2 separate regions of the Homo sapiens genome follow, and region 1 is linked to region 2. The links are contacts of gene promoters, found by promoter capture Hi-C in blood cells and fetal thymus (Javierre and others, 2016). All regions are on one chromosome and are shown on one strand. Each heading gives the region's core, a stretch centred on a gene start or on the middle of the fragment in contact. The rest is flanking DNA. Distances are from core to core; before and after follow the strand shown.

Evidence for each region. The method cuts DNA at HindIII sites, captures the fragments that hold promoters and counts their contacts. A CHiCAGO score of 5 or more calls a contact.
Region 1: a fragment that was not itself captured here is called in contact with the fragment with the promoter of CLTCL1 in region 2 in 1 of 17 cell types (naive CD8 T cells); the score reaches 5.4 in naive CD8 T cells.

Annotation. Positions count from the first base shown.
Region 1 is chr22:19,144,448-19,151,151 of GRCh38, forward strand. ESS2 (ess-2 spliceosome associated protein) reads right to left here and starts at 204. Exons shown (of 10, transcript NM_022719.3): 1 at 59-204. The coding sequence starts at 193. It overlaps GSC2 (goosecoid homeobox 2), which reads right to left and starts at 5,845. Exons shown (of 3, transcript NM_005315.2): 1 at 5,578-5,845; 2 at 5,216-5,469; 3 at 2,546-4,648. The coding sequence starts at 5,836. The coding sequence ends at 4,544. RefSeq lists an enhancer at 4,797-5,296. The HindIII fragment of the contact is 1,303 bases long and covers 600-1,902 here.
Region 2 is chr22:19,288,942-19,295,298 of GRCh38, forward strand. CLTCL1 (clathrin heavy chain like 1) reads right to left here and starts at 2,778. Exons shown (of 33, transcript NM_007098.4): 1 at 2,659-2,778. The coding sequence starts at 2,700. It overlaps LOC105372859 (a long non-coding RNA gene), which reads left to right and starts at 3,006. Exons shown (of 6, transcript XR_938002.3): 1 at 3,006-3,389. RefSeq lists an enhancer at 1,967-2,480 and silencers at 2,591-2,775, 2,657-2,896. The HindIII fragment of the contact is 6,040 bases long and covers 1,301-6,357 here.

The DNA of each region.
Region 1 (6,704 bases), core at 1-2,500, 150 kb before region 2:
AGGAGCTTGAAGCAGAGGATGGGCCCAGAAGTCGCCGGCGTCCGCACCGAGGTCGTACCTCGATATACTCTTCCTCGTCCAGGACCCGCTGCTTGCTCGTCGCAGCCCCAGCCTCTCCCGCCTCGCGCTTCCTCGGGGGCCTGGACGCGGCGGGAAGCAACAAGGACGACGCTGATGCGCCCGGCGTCTCCATCGCTATCCCAGGAAAAAGCTCGGGCCCAGCAGGCGCGTCACAGGGTGGAGGGGGCGGGACTGCACCATTTGCGCAGGCGCCTCCAATAGTTGGCCAATGGAAAAGCTGTGGCTCTAGAAAGCCAGCCCGCGCTCCGTTCTGACGTCACTATAAATGCTAGACTTTATTGGAAATGTAGTCCTTGTCCTGCCCCGCGCTATTCATGCTTGTCAATGCTGTGAACACGAGGGGGTGCTGTGGAGGTGGCGGGGAGGATGCTATAGGGCGTGTTCTTCACGCGAGAAATTCTGGCTTTGCAGCGTCCAAAGGCCTTAGAATTCTAATTTCCCACAAATAAGAACTATGTATGCTTCGAGATTATTCTACAAAAATACAAACCAGGAAATTTACTTATATAGGAGTTTCAAGCTTTATGCAAGAAAAGGGCCTTAAAACAATTTTTTTTTTGAGACGGAGTTTCGGTCTTGTTGCCCAGGCTGGAGTGCAATGGCATGATCTCGGCTCACCGGAGTTCCCGGGTTCAAGGGATTCTCCTGCCTCAGCCTCCCGAGTAGCTGGGATTACAGGCATGGGCCACCACGCCCGGCTAATTTTGCATTTTTAGTAGAGACAGGGTTTCTCTATGTTGGTCAGGCTGGTCTCTGGATTACAGGCGTGAGCCACCGCACCCGGCCAAAACAATCTTTTTTTTTTTTTTATAGTTATCTAACAAAAGGTGAAAGAACAAGACAGTGGTTCGATTAAGAAATGTCTAAAGATTATTCTGTAATCCCAGAACTTTGAGAGGCCAAGACAGGCGGATCACCTGAGGTCAGGAGTTCTAGACCAGCCTGGCCAACAAGATGAAACCCCATCTCTACTAAAAACACACAAAAAAATTAGCTGGGCATGGTGGTGGACGCCTGTAATCCCAGCTACTCGGAAGGCTGAGGCTGGAGAATTGCTTGAACCCAGGAGGCGGAGGTTGCAGTGAGCTGAGATTGCACCATTGCACTCCAGCCTGGGTAACAAGAGCAAAACTCTGTCAAAAAAAAAAAAAAGATTATTGGGCCCCCAAATGCCAGAGTGGGCTTCCCAGAAGAGGGATCATTCTCATTCAAGACCAGGCACGGTGGCTCACGCCTGTAACCTCAGCACTTTGGGAGACCCAGGCAGGTGGATCACTTGAAGTCAGGAGATTGAGACCAGCCTGGCCAACATGGTGAAACCCCAACTCTACTAAAAAAAAAAAAAAATACAAAGTGGTGGTAGGTGCCTGTAGTCCCAGCTACTTGGGAGGCTGAGGCAGGAAAATCACTCAAACCCAGGAGGTGGAAACTGCAGTGAGCAGAGATTGTGCCACTGCACTACAGCCTGGGTGACAGAGTGAAACTCTGTCAAGAAAAAAAAAAATTAATATTCAAGTGAACCAGAAAATTGCCTCGGCATTTTTAAGGAATTTCTTCCCAAACGAAAGATGTGAATTGTGTTGGACAAATAAATTCCGCCCTGGAACAATTTAATACAATTTTGCTTTTGCAACATACAGGGATACCTTCATTCACTGAAGTGCAGCGTGCTGCTGCTGCCCTTGTAGAAGTGACAGTGCAATGGGGAAGACAGAGACACTTGTTAGATCATCACACAAACAGGTGTAAAATTGCAGCTGTGTCCGTGCAAGAAAAGAGTTTGTACTTGGGGAATCTTGACCTAGTTCGGGAGGTCAGAGAAGCTTCCCCAGGCAGAAAGTGATTGCAGATTCAAAAGACGAACAAACCGGCAACAGTCAGGTGGAAAGAGCATGTGCAAAGGCCTAGTGGTGGGAGGGAGCAAGGCAAGTTCTAAAGAAGTCCTTTGGAAATGCAGAGTGCAGTGAGGTGTGAGATGATGCCAGAGAGGCAGGGCCAGGCTGCACAGGGCCTTGTAGGGTATGGTGAGGTGGTTTGTCTTCATTCTGAATTGAAGGGGCAGGCCAGGCACAGTGGCTCATGCCTATAATCCCAGCACTTTGGAAGGCCTAGGCCGGCGGATAGTTTGAGGTCAGAAGTTTGAGACCAGCCTGGCCAACATGGCAAGACCTCATCTCTACAAAAAACTTTTCAAGTTAGTCGGGTGTGGTGGTGCCCACCTGTGGTCCTAGCTACTCAGAAGGCTGATGGGGGAGGATCGCTTGAGCCCAGGAGCTGGAGGCTATAGTGAGCCATGATTGCACCACTACACTCCAGCTTGGGTGATGGAGCGAGACCTTGTCTCAAACCAACCGACAAACAAAAAAGCAGAGCCAGTGTGGTGCAGGTGGACAAGATTAGAGACAGTTGCAGTGGTCAAGGTGAGAGGTGACGGTGGCTTACATCAGACTGGTGCAGTTAGAGCTGGAGAGATTCTGGGATTTATTGATTTATTGATAAACAGTAAAACTGACTTCCTGTCAGCCTGGGTATAGTGGATGATCAGGAGAGGGAGGGGTCCAGGGACCAGTTTCGGGTGGGCGGCTAGCTCTCTGGCTCATGTGCCTGGTTTGCACAGAAGAGCTCACTGTGGACAAGGTGACCTTAAGGAGTCTGTGGGCTTCAAGGGGACAGCTGGAGATAAATACCTGGCTCAGGGGAAGTGCCTGGCTTGAGATGTAAATGTGGCAGAAAGATGGGAATTGGAGTCTGAGGGTAAAAGATAAACCGGGAAGAGGGTGAAGATGAGAAGCGAGCGCCTGGGTGTGAGCGTGAAGGATGCCTATGTTAATAGCCTGCTGTGGGGGGTCAGCCTGCCAAGGAGCAGCTAGAGCTCAAGAAGCAAATTCAGGAGAGCAACACAGCCACTGAGCCCTGGAAGGTGGCGCTCCACAAGCTCTGATCGGGGCTCCCAAAACAATGACAGATGGCCATTCAACCAAGGAACTCAAGGGGCCTGGAGCCTGTGAGATGCGAGTGTCCCCAGCTGCAAGGGAGCTGACTGGGACACGGGCATGTCCACAGGTAGTCTGTTCAGTCCCCAAGGGCAAGACCAGGGTTCAGGGAGAAGGGCTTTGTGTGCATGCTAGGGGTGGAGGCGGGGATGCTAGGGACACCCAGCAGTGTCAGGGCAGTTCTGACTGGGGACACCATGCTTGCTTGGTGTTATCCAAGCTGGCCAGCCTTGGGGTGTCTGGGGAGCTGCAGCCCTGGCTTCTGCAGTCCTGCTTTTAGAGATGGACTTCATCTCTTGCAGGTAGAATGGCCCCATTCCCTGCAGGGCCTGTAAGGAGACAGAACGAGGTGCTCAAGCCAGCTGGGGGTGGGGATGTGAGATGCTTTGGACCCACTGTAGGGCCTACTTGGGGAATCTAAGGCTTCTTTCCACTGTGCCTTTTGCCATGGGCCAGGATAAAGAAGGGGAGGGCAGGCATCTTCCCAGGCAGCAGGGGCGGGGTCTCCCCAGTCCAACCTCCTCTTGCCCTACCCTAGGATGGCACAGATTGCTGTGAGGGAGTCCGAGCCCACAGCATGAAAACCCCAGGAGGAAGCAGGGGACCCTCACCCATGGGCAGGTTCACAGTAGCCTAGAGGCCAGGGCTGGACCCCAGGGGTCCAAGGCCACCATCCGTGGAGCAGTCCCCTCTGCTGGGGAGCACCCTGGTGCAGAGACTGAGGATCGCTGAGCTGTGCTCCTCTCAAAGACAGCTGTACCCTAAATACCCCCTCGCTGGGAAGGAAGAAGAAGGGACAGCTCCTTGTTGGGTGTGGGAGTGGAGCCAAGGTGGACTTGAGACTCTGGGCGGCTTCTGTGGTATTTGAAGTTGCTAGTTTCTCAGTATCAGCGCGAGGCTCGAAGGTGAAGGGACTGTGGAGGGGCTCCTGGAATCGCTCCTGCGACCTTCTTATTCTACAGGTCCAGATACCAAGACCCAGCCCAGGGCCTGGGAAGCCTGCAACGCCAGGACTGCACAGACACGAACCCCATCCCCTCTCCCGCTGGGGGAGGACGAGCCAGGTCAAGTTAGGTCAATGTCCACATTGAGAAGAGGGTGGCCAGCATGTCCCAGGGTGCGGAGAGACGCTCCACTGCGTAGGATTCTGGGTCCCGTGTTGATACGGGGTGGTTCCCCTCCTGCGGTGGAGTTAGTGTCTCTCGGGGGGTAGGGAGCTGAGGAAACTGCTCTATGCCCCAGCCCACCCCCAAGGGACTCGCCACTCCCACTGCCGTGGAACACCAAGCACCGGGGGCCCGTCCCCAGCGCCACGGCAGCACGAGCTGCAGGAGGCAAGGGCTGTGGAGACGGGTGGAGGCGGCCGGTGTACTCTCCCAGCTCCTTTTCGGGTAGACCTGTCTTCTCTCAGCGCCAACTCCAAAGATCCCAAAAAGGGTGGCCGAGCCCAGGGGCAGCTCCTAGAGTCATCAGCAGCTCCCCTTCGGGGACTTCTTGACGCCGGGCAGGAGCCTCGCGGAAGCCGACGCGCGCTTCTGGTGTCGCCATTTGGCCCGGCGGTTCTTGAACCAGACCTGGGGATGGGGGGAATGCTCAGCCCTAGCCCCAGGTCCTGCGTCCCACCGGCTCCCGAGGGTCCCACAGGGACCGAGAGGGGAGCTTCGCAACAGGGATGTGGGCGGACGGCGCTGTAGAGCCGACACCCGGGCCGCGGCTGCGCGCCACCTGCCCTTATTCGCTGCGGACAGACTCGGTGGGTCTGGACGCGAGATGGGAACCCCCTTAGTACCCGCCCCAGCCTCCAGCTGGCGGCGACCAGGACGCCCCTTCTTGGGTTGCGGGCTCTTCTGAATTTCCCAAATTCTGGACGTGAACGCGGGCCTCTTTCGTCACCAGAGGAAAGTGTAAAACAAAAGAAAAGAAAAGTAGCCCTCCGGTTCCTTTCCCGCGGCACCTCCCTGCTCTCACCCGCTCCTCATACCCCCGGACGCCCAGCGCCGTCCAGGGACCTCCTCCCTCCGGCGCGCCAGGGCGGGGCTTGGGCCGAGGCCGTCTTTGCAAAGGGCGCCCGCCCGCCAGGACCCCAGTCCAGTGTAGCCGCGGCCCGCGCGCTCCGGGGAAAGGCTGGGCGGGGCACTCACCTCCACGCGCTCCTCGCGAAGGCGGATGCGGCCGGCCAGGCGCTCGCGCGTACTCACGTCAGGATACTGGTTCTGCACGAAAAGCGCCTCGAGCGCCTGCAGCTGCTCTTCGCTGAAGATGGTGCGGTGGCGCCTCGTGCGCCGCTGCGAACCCGGGCCGACCGCGCCCGGGAGCGCCCCGGAACCTCCGGCTGGCGCACCCAGAGACAAGGGCACCGCCGGTCCCAGCCTCAGCGGCCACGCCAGACGAGCGCCTGCGGAGCGAGGGCGCGGTGAGGCGCGGGGCTGGGGCCAAGCTCGGCACCCACTGCGCCGCGCCCCGGGCTCCGCCGGGCCCCGCGCCCCGCTCCGCGCCCACTCACCCAGCCCGGCGGCCGCCTCTGGGGGCCCGCAGGGCGCCGCGCGGGGGCCGCAGCAGCAGCAGCAGGCGCAGGGCGCAGCCTCGGGCGCCCCGGGCTCCTCTGGCTTCGCGGGGCTCTGGCGACCGGCGGGCTGCGGTGGGCAGGCGGCCCGGGCCGGGAGGCTCCGCTCGGGCAGGCTGGAGAGGATGTGCTCGATGGAGAAGGGGCAGGGCCGCCCGGCACCCCGGCGGCTCGCCGCGCCCCCAGCCGCTGCCGCCATGCCCGGCCCGGCCGGGGCGCCGCCGCCGCGGGAATATATACGTCGGGGAGGGAGCGCGCAGTAATCCCCGGGCCGGGCGTCCAGTCCACGCGGGTTAATCCCGCAGCGCCGGCCGCGAACGCGCTAATCCTCGACTGCGGCGGCCCTGCCTCCGCGCGCGGGGGCCGGGGGCGCTGCAGAGAGGGCCCCCTGTGCCCCCCACCCCGCCCCGCGTCCTCCTGCCCCACCCGCGCCCGCCGCTCAAGCTGGCAGGGCGACCTGCGGGGAAGGGGCGGAGGGCCGCCTCGCCGCCGCCCGCGGGGCCTGGCAGCCGCTCGGAGGGCGCCCCGACCCTGGCAGCTCCCCAGAGCGCGGCGGTGCCTCCCGGCCCAGCCTCTGGTGGCTCCCCCTCGTTCGGCTGGGCCTAATTCCTCGTCCCCTCTGGGGCCCTACTGCGGCGGCTCAGCACGCCTGCAGAAGCTCGGCCTAGCCGCCCACCCGAAACTCCTGGACCGCAGCCTCCATGGGGCCCAGCACCACCGGCAACCGCACGATCCCGCCGCGCTCGGGTCCCGAACCTGCCCGCCACCTCGGAGCCAGGGTCTCATGGCCCTGGAGGGCGTGAGAGCGCGGCAGGAAGCCTGGGCTGCCGGGTGCCCCCAGTTCTCCGTCTCCTCACCTGTGTCAAGGAGACCTCCCCGCCCCTTCCGAGGCCCCTCCTCGGTGCTTCAGAGCCGCCTGTCCTCCAGCTTTCCCACTGGTCCCAGAATCCCCGCGAAAACATCCAACACTGCACCTCGCCCTTCCCCGCACTGTCACTGCCCCCCAGAAGCTGTGGGCTCCCCCTCCTCGCTCTCCGCCCAGGCCAGTCCTCTGGCCACACCGTCCT
Region 2 (6,357 bases), core at 1,528-4,027:
CAGAAGATGCGTGTGGTGTGATGGGCTTTATCTCACCTAGCTCATCGCATCTTATTTTTTGAGACGGAGTCTCGGTCTGTTACCCAGGCTGGAGAGTAGTGACATGATTTTGGCTCACTGCAACCTCTGCCTCCCGGGTTCAAGAGATTCTCCCGCCTCAGCCTCCTGACTAGCTGGGACTACAGGTGCGTACCAACACGCCCGGCTAATACTGTATTTTTAGTAGAGACGAGGTTTCACCATGTTGGCCAGGCTGGTCTCGAACTCCTGATCTCAGGTGATCCACCCGCCTCGGCCTCCCAAAGTGGTGGGATTACAGGTGTGAGCCACCATGCTCGGCCTGATTTTATTTTTTACAGCAAAGATTAGCCAACTGCAGCCTGCTTTTGTATGGCTAAACTAAAAGTCTTTTTCATATTTTTAGAAGGTTAAAAAATGTAAGAATATGGGACAGAGACAGAATGTGGCCCTTACAAAAAAGCCTGCAGGATGGCTTGTAACCTTGGCAAAAACAGATTCAGGGGAAAAAATGGGGACAAAAGCCAGACTGCAGGTTACTGTGGAACATAAAAATAATGAAGCACTAAAGCAGCTCTTTCATGACATCCAGCTATGAGACAAGAGCTTCGTGGGGACAAGAGCGGGGGAAGAAGTTTGCTGGTTGTACAGATGGAAGAGAGGTGAGCATTGCCCAACACAAACAGGAAGAAACAACAAGACAGAAGGATGAAAATACAGGAAAGGGAGGCTATGACTGAACGAGGCTCCCTTATAGGGAAGAAGGATACCAGATCCAGAACATAGACAAGAAAGGACACCTACTTTTGAGGTAACAGGAAGGCAGGAAAGGGTGGCTGCAGACAAACATCTAAGTCTGCAGCCATATAGGTGAGAAACATCCCAGTTATGGCTTCAGTTTTCTCCAAGTCATCTGCTGGTTGCAAGGCAGGAGTGGCAGGATCAGGGATTTAAGGAACAGGCTGAAGTCTCGAAATGTCTGTAGTGAAGGCAGTGTGTGCTGACTCAGTGTTTGCTCTACAGAATGCACAGCAGCCTCAAAGACCCAGTCAGTGTTAGAGACCACAAACCAGACTTGCATTCACGTGGCTGCCCACCACAAGCCACAAGCATTTTCCAGATAATGGAACATATCAACTCTGATGGACATTACAAATCCTGATGGACATTAGAAACTCTGATGGACACCTAAAATATCTTGTTGCTTTCTTGCCCTTTGAAAAGAACATATTTAGATAGTGGTTAAGCACAGGCATTGGAATCAGACCTGGGTTAGAACTCAAGCTTTGTCACTTACTAGCCATGTAACTTTTGCTGAAGGAATTAGAATATTAACCTCAGTGACCCATGGTAGAAAACAGGATATCACTATCTGCCTCAGTTATCATGAGGATTAAATTAAACCAGATTTATAAAATACAGTAGTCTAGTGAGTGGCAAGAGAAACGGCTCAGTAAATGATAACTACATCATCATCATTATTATGAGCAGCAGCAGTATTTTGCTACCTCAACATGACTGGTGCTGGCTTAGCTTAGTGGCAGAATGAAGCCCGGACAGATGTCAGGGCACTCCCACCTCCATACAACTTCCACTGTGTCACTAACCAAGTGACCCTGGCAGGATCCCCTGGATATCAAGTTTCCAGTCTGCAGAATGAGGGGACTGGACTGCACTACACAGTTCCCAAGGCTTTTCCCGTCTGCATCTAGGGCTAACAGTGCTCTGCACTGTGAAAATAGGAACTTTCAAGCAAGCACGTTCCTCGATGTACTACTTTGTGGTCAAAAAGACTTGAGTCTGAATCCTGTTCTTATTGAATGAAGATGAGTTCTTTAACACTTTTGAGACTCGGTTTCCTCATCTAGAAAAGAGTAAGCGAATCGCAACGAATGGTAGTGTGATGATTTAACACAGAGCACTCAGGGAGGAGCCGCTGGCTATCCCTCCTCTGCCGCACCTCCCAGGGTAAACGTGGGGACCAGCACCGCTCCCGGGCAGACCCGCGAGCGGCCCGCACGACGCCCGACCTGAGCCTTTGCTCAAAGCAGGGGGCCAGTCCTTATGTTTCTGAACACAAACAAATGGAGAACAAACTGGGACCTTATTAAAAAGGCAGGCTTTGGGGGTGTTACTGCATTGAAAAGCCCTATTTAGGCTTGGCCCTGAGAAATTTTTCTCTTGGGTCACGCATGTTCACGGTCCTCCCAGGCGAAGCCGCCCTGGGGACGAAAACCGATCACAGAGGCAAACTCAGGGGCGAATAAGGACCGCAGGACGCCAAGGAGGGGCGTGGAGCTGTGGGATCCGCGCGGCCCTTGGGTTGCCCTGCCTGCAGCGGGAATTTGTGTGCCTCCTCGCGGGCACTGAGCGGGGCGTCCCAGGGGGCGTTGGCTTCCACCCCCACCATTCCCCAGCCGGCCCCGCCGGTAACGGGCTTCGGCGACGGCACCCAAGCGGGTCCTCAGGAGCGGCCGCCGCGCCCGGGACGCCGCAGCCCCAGCCCAGGTGGGAGGTCGGAAATCGGCGCGGCCAGCTGGGCAGCGGCTCAGCGGGGCTGGGGGCGCGGGGTCAAGCCTGGCAGTCCGGCCCGGCGGAGGCGCGGCTGACAGGGCAGCCCCCCAGCCCGCCGGGCCTCACCTGGAAGTGCTCCTGAAAGCGAACAGGGAGGATCTGCGCCATGGCTGGTGCGGGACCTCGGCGGCGGCGGCGGCAGCGGCAGGAATGAACGCCGACCCCTCGCGCGGGCTGACCGGTGGCGACGGCGCAGGCGCAGTGCCCCGAGCTCCCGGTCCTGGCCCCCGCCCTCCTCCCTGACCGCGCCCCGGCCCGCACCCCCTTTCCCCGCCCCTTCCCCCGCCCCTGCCCCGCCCCTGCCCCGCCTCTGCCCCGCCCCTGCCCCCGCCCCTGCCCCCGCCCCTGCCCCCGCCTCTGCCCCGTCCCGCCTGCGCGGATCCCTCCGCCCGCTCCGAGGGTCCGCGGAAAGTAGTCCCGCGCGCCCTCTGCCCTGACGCGGTGTGTGCCAGCTACCCGAGTGAAAGGTTTTCGGGGGATTAATCCTGATGGGGTCTGCGGCGGCCCTTGCCCAGCGCCTTCCACATGTGGAGCGGGCCAGTGGTGCTAGTTCTGCCGCCAACTCTGGACGGTTGAGTTCAGGGCCACTTTTTACTCAGGCACGGATGTGACAGAAAGATGGAAAAGGGTCTTGGAAGAACCACATGTGCCGTATAACGAACGACCTTTTGGTCTGAGGAGGACCGTGTATATGACGGTGGTCCCATAACATGATAACGGAGCTGGAAACTTCCTGTCCTCTGGTGAGGGCTTAGCTAAGGACATTTCCTCTCCTGTATTTGGAGATACACGTACAGGTATGTCATTACCGTGCCAGGGGAATAACGCACCTCACACGCGGTGCGGGTTTGCGGCCTAGCAGCAGCGGACCGCATCAGCTGCCTAGTTGTGTAGTGGCTGTGCCATCTGAGTTTGTGTAAGTTACCTTGTGATGATCCCACAACCGAGACGCATGTCTCAGAATGCATGGATGCATGGGACGCGTGACTGTACGTGTTACAGACGTGTTTCGGCGTGAGGCTCGGCCCCTGCTCCTTTAGGAAACACCTTTCCTGGCTCATGCGGTTTCTAGAGAACACTGTGTCGGAATATCAATGTAGAGAGTCAGCGAAGGTCATCTAGCAGCAGATGACCAGCCCCAGGCCAGTGAGGATCACCCAGAGTGCCCGTGGCTGCACGACAGTAGTAGCAGGTGGAAGCTGGAGCCCACACCTGGTTTGCCCAGCAGCCAGTTGTTTTTCCGAGGCACCGTTGGCTGATGTTTTGCATACAGATGATTCAGCTGCATAAAAGATGTCTGTCAGGAAAGGGAAGCCCTTGGCATTCAGCACAGGCACTCCCTACGGGGTAATCGATAGCCGTCTCTGCTGCTTCCCATGTTGCTCACTGGTAATTTTAAGAAATGAACGGCCCACCTTGAATAAGACAAGGATGGTGCAATTATTTGCGCAATGGCTTGACCATCTAGTAGCCAAAAATATGTTAAGGAATAGAACAGACTGTTCACTTTCAAATTAAATCTCTTTTCCAGTATTAGCCAAGACCTCTGCAGCCCGCCCTTTCTAAAATCCATGTGGCCTCATCCGCTAAATATAGAGCTGGGTTTTGCTGTGGTTAGTACTACATTTCCCAAATCTCTTTATTTTGGCAATGATGCCTGTGACTCCAAGTACCCTTTACCCCAAACATTATATAAATTTTTTAGTAATTAATACCATCACTCCCTAAATCACCTTCCCCAGGGCTTTTTGGGGATTAAAACTAAAATTTTATACCCTAAAAGAAAGAATTTAAGAAAATCATAGTTAAGCAAAGTGACAGGATTGTTAATACGTCGGGACCTCAAGTGGGGATTAAGTTTCAACATTAATTTTAGAGGAGACACAAATCTTTCTGTCTCTTCAAACCATAGAAGAGACAGAAAGCACAACAGTTATTTGAATAGACAGAAGTGAATATAAGTGATAGTTGTAGTTAACAGGAAATAAAGTTGTTAATATACTTGTAAAAAAATTAAATGTTCTGACTTGAAAGGGACTTTAATATTCTCACCACTTGTAGGTAACTTGCTAAGTAACCCTAAAAAAACCTTTCAATTCTTTTTTTTTTTTTTTTTTTTTTGAGACAAGAGTCTCGCTCTGTCGCCCAGGCTGGTGTGCAGTGGCACGATCTCTGCTCACTGCAACCTCTGCCTCTCAGGTTCCAGCCATTCTCCTGCCTCAGCCTCCCAAGTAGCTGGGACTACAGGCGCACGCCACCGCACCTGGCTAATTTTTCATTTTTAGTAGAGACAGGGTCTCACCATGTTGACCAGGCTGGTCTCAAACTCCTGGCCTCAGGTGATCCATCCACCTCGGCCTTCCAAAGTGCTGGGATTACAGGTGTGAGCCACCGCGCCTGGCCCGGGATTAAGTTTCAACATTAATTTTGAAGGGGACACAAACCTTCAAACCACAGAAGAGAGAGAAAGTGCATCAGTTATTTAAACAAAGGGAACTGAATATAAACAATAGTTAACAGGAAGTAAATTTAAAATAATAAAAAGAAAATCCCAAGATATGGAGTTACAAACATAGGACACAGCTACCACCCCTAGAGCTCAAAGATGAAAGAGAAGCTGGAATTATTACAGCTTAAAGGAAGGGCTTGCAGAGCTGGAATTCAGATCTCTGAGGAGGTGTGTTGACCAGCTGGGGCTGGGGTCATTGAGCCCAGAGGAGAGATCCCATGGGGATGGGACTCAGACCTCTGAGGAGGGTCCCTACGGGACTTAGACACACACTATGGATGAGGGGTGGCTGTGGAGCTGGGAGTAAGCCCTCTAAAGAGGGCACTGGGAGACTCTCACCCAGATCTCTAAGGAGAAGGCATACTGAGGCTGGTTCTGCAAGTCTTGGAAAAACTTAAACTGGATTCAGCTTCTGTGGGAAGAATGTGCTGCTGCCTTGTTGAAGAAGCCTAGCTGGGGTGATGCTCACAGGAAGTGGCCCTGTGGTCTCCCTCTATCAACCTATCAGCTTAGTCTAATAGGGAATATTAGATCAGATCTTCTTTATTTGCCAATGAGAAATATGTTTTTTAGAGTCTCAGCCCTGGCATCAGAAGCAGTGTCTAGAGGTGGGAAGGGAGAATAGAGCTGAAAGACATTATTTAATAACTGGTACAAGAAACGACATGTTATAGCTAAATTCCAATTCCCATGGGACTTTCCTATAGGTGGAATTGAAAAGTCTGTGGAGGCGTATAATCGCAGCGCTTTGGGAGGCTGAGGTAGGAGGATTGCTTGAGCCCAGGAGTTCAAGACCAGCCTGGTCAACCCCATCTCTTCAAAAAAATTTAAAAATTAACAGGGCATGGTGATGCATGTCTATAGGCCTAGTTGGGAGGCTGCAACAGGAGGATCACTTGAGCCCATGAGCTCAAGGTTACAGTAAGCTATGATCGTACCACTATACTCCAGCCTGGGCAACAGAGAAAGACCCTGTCTTTAAAAAAGAAAAAGTCACTGGAGGACTTTAGTTTTCAGACAGCTTCAGAGAACTAAAAAGGCAGTGAATAATTATGAGGCCAATATCAGAGAGAAAGGACATGAGAGAGGTGAGTGGTTTATGGCTGCTTTTTCTTGAAAGGCATCTGCCAATTCCAGATGAATGTTTGAGACACTAGGACTCTGAGCAGCACTTTTAACACTCTCATTGCCCTAGGACGACAAAATTTGGAGGCTTGGTACCACCAAGGAGGTATCCCACTGTACTGTTTTGGGAC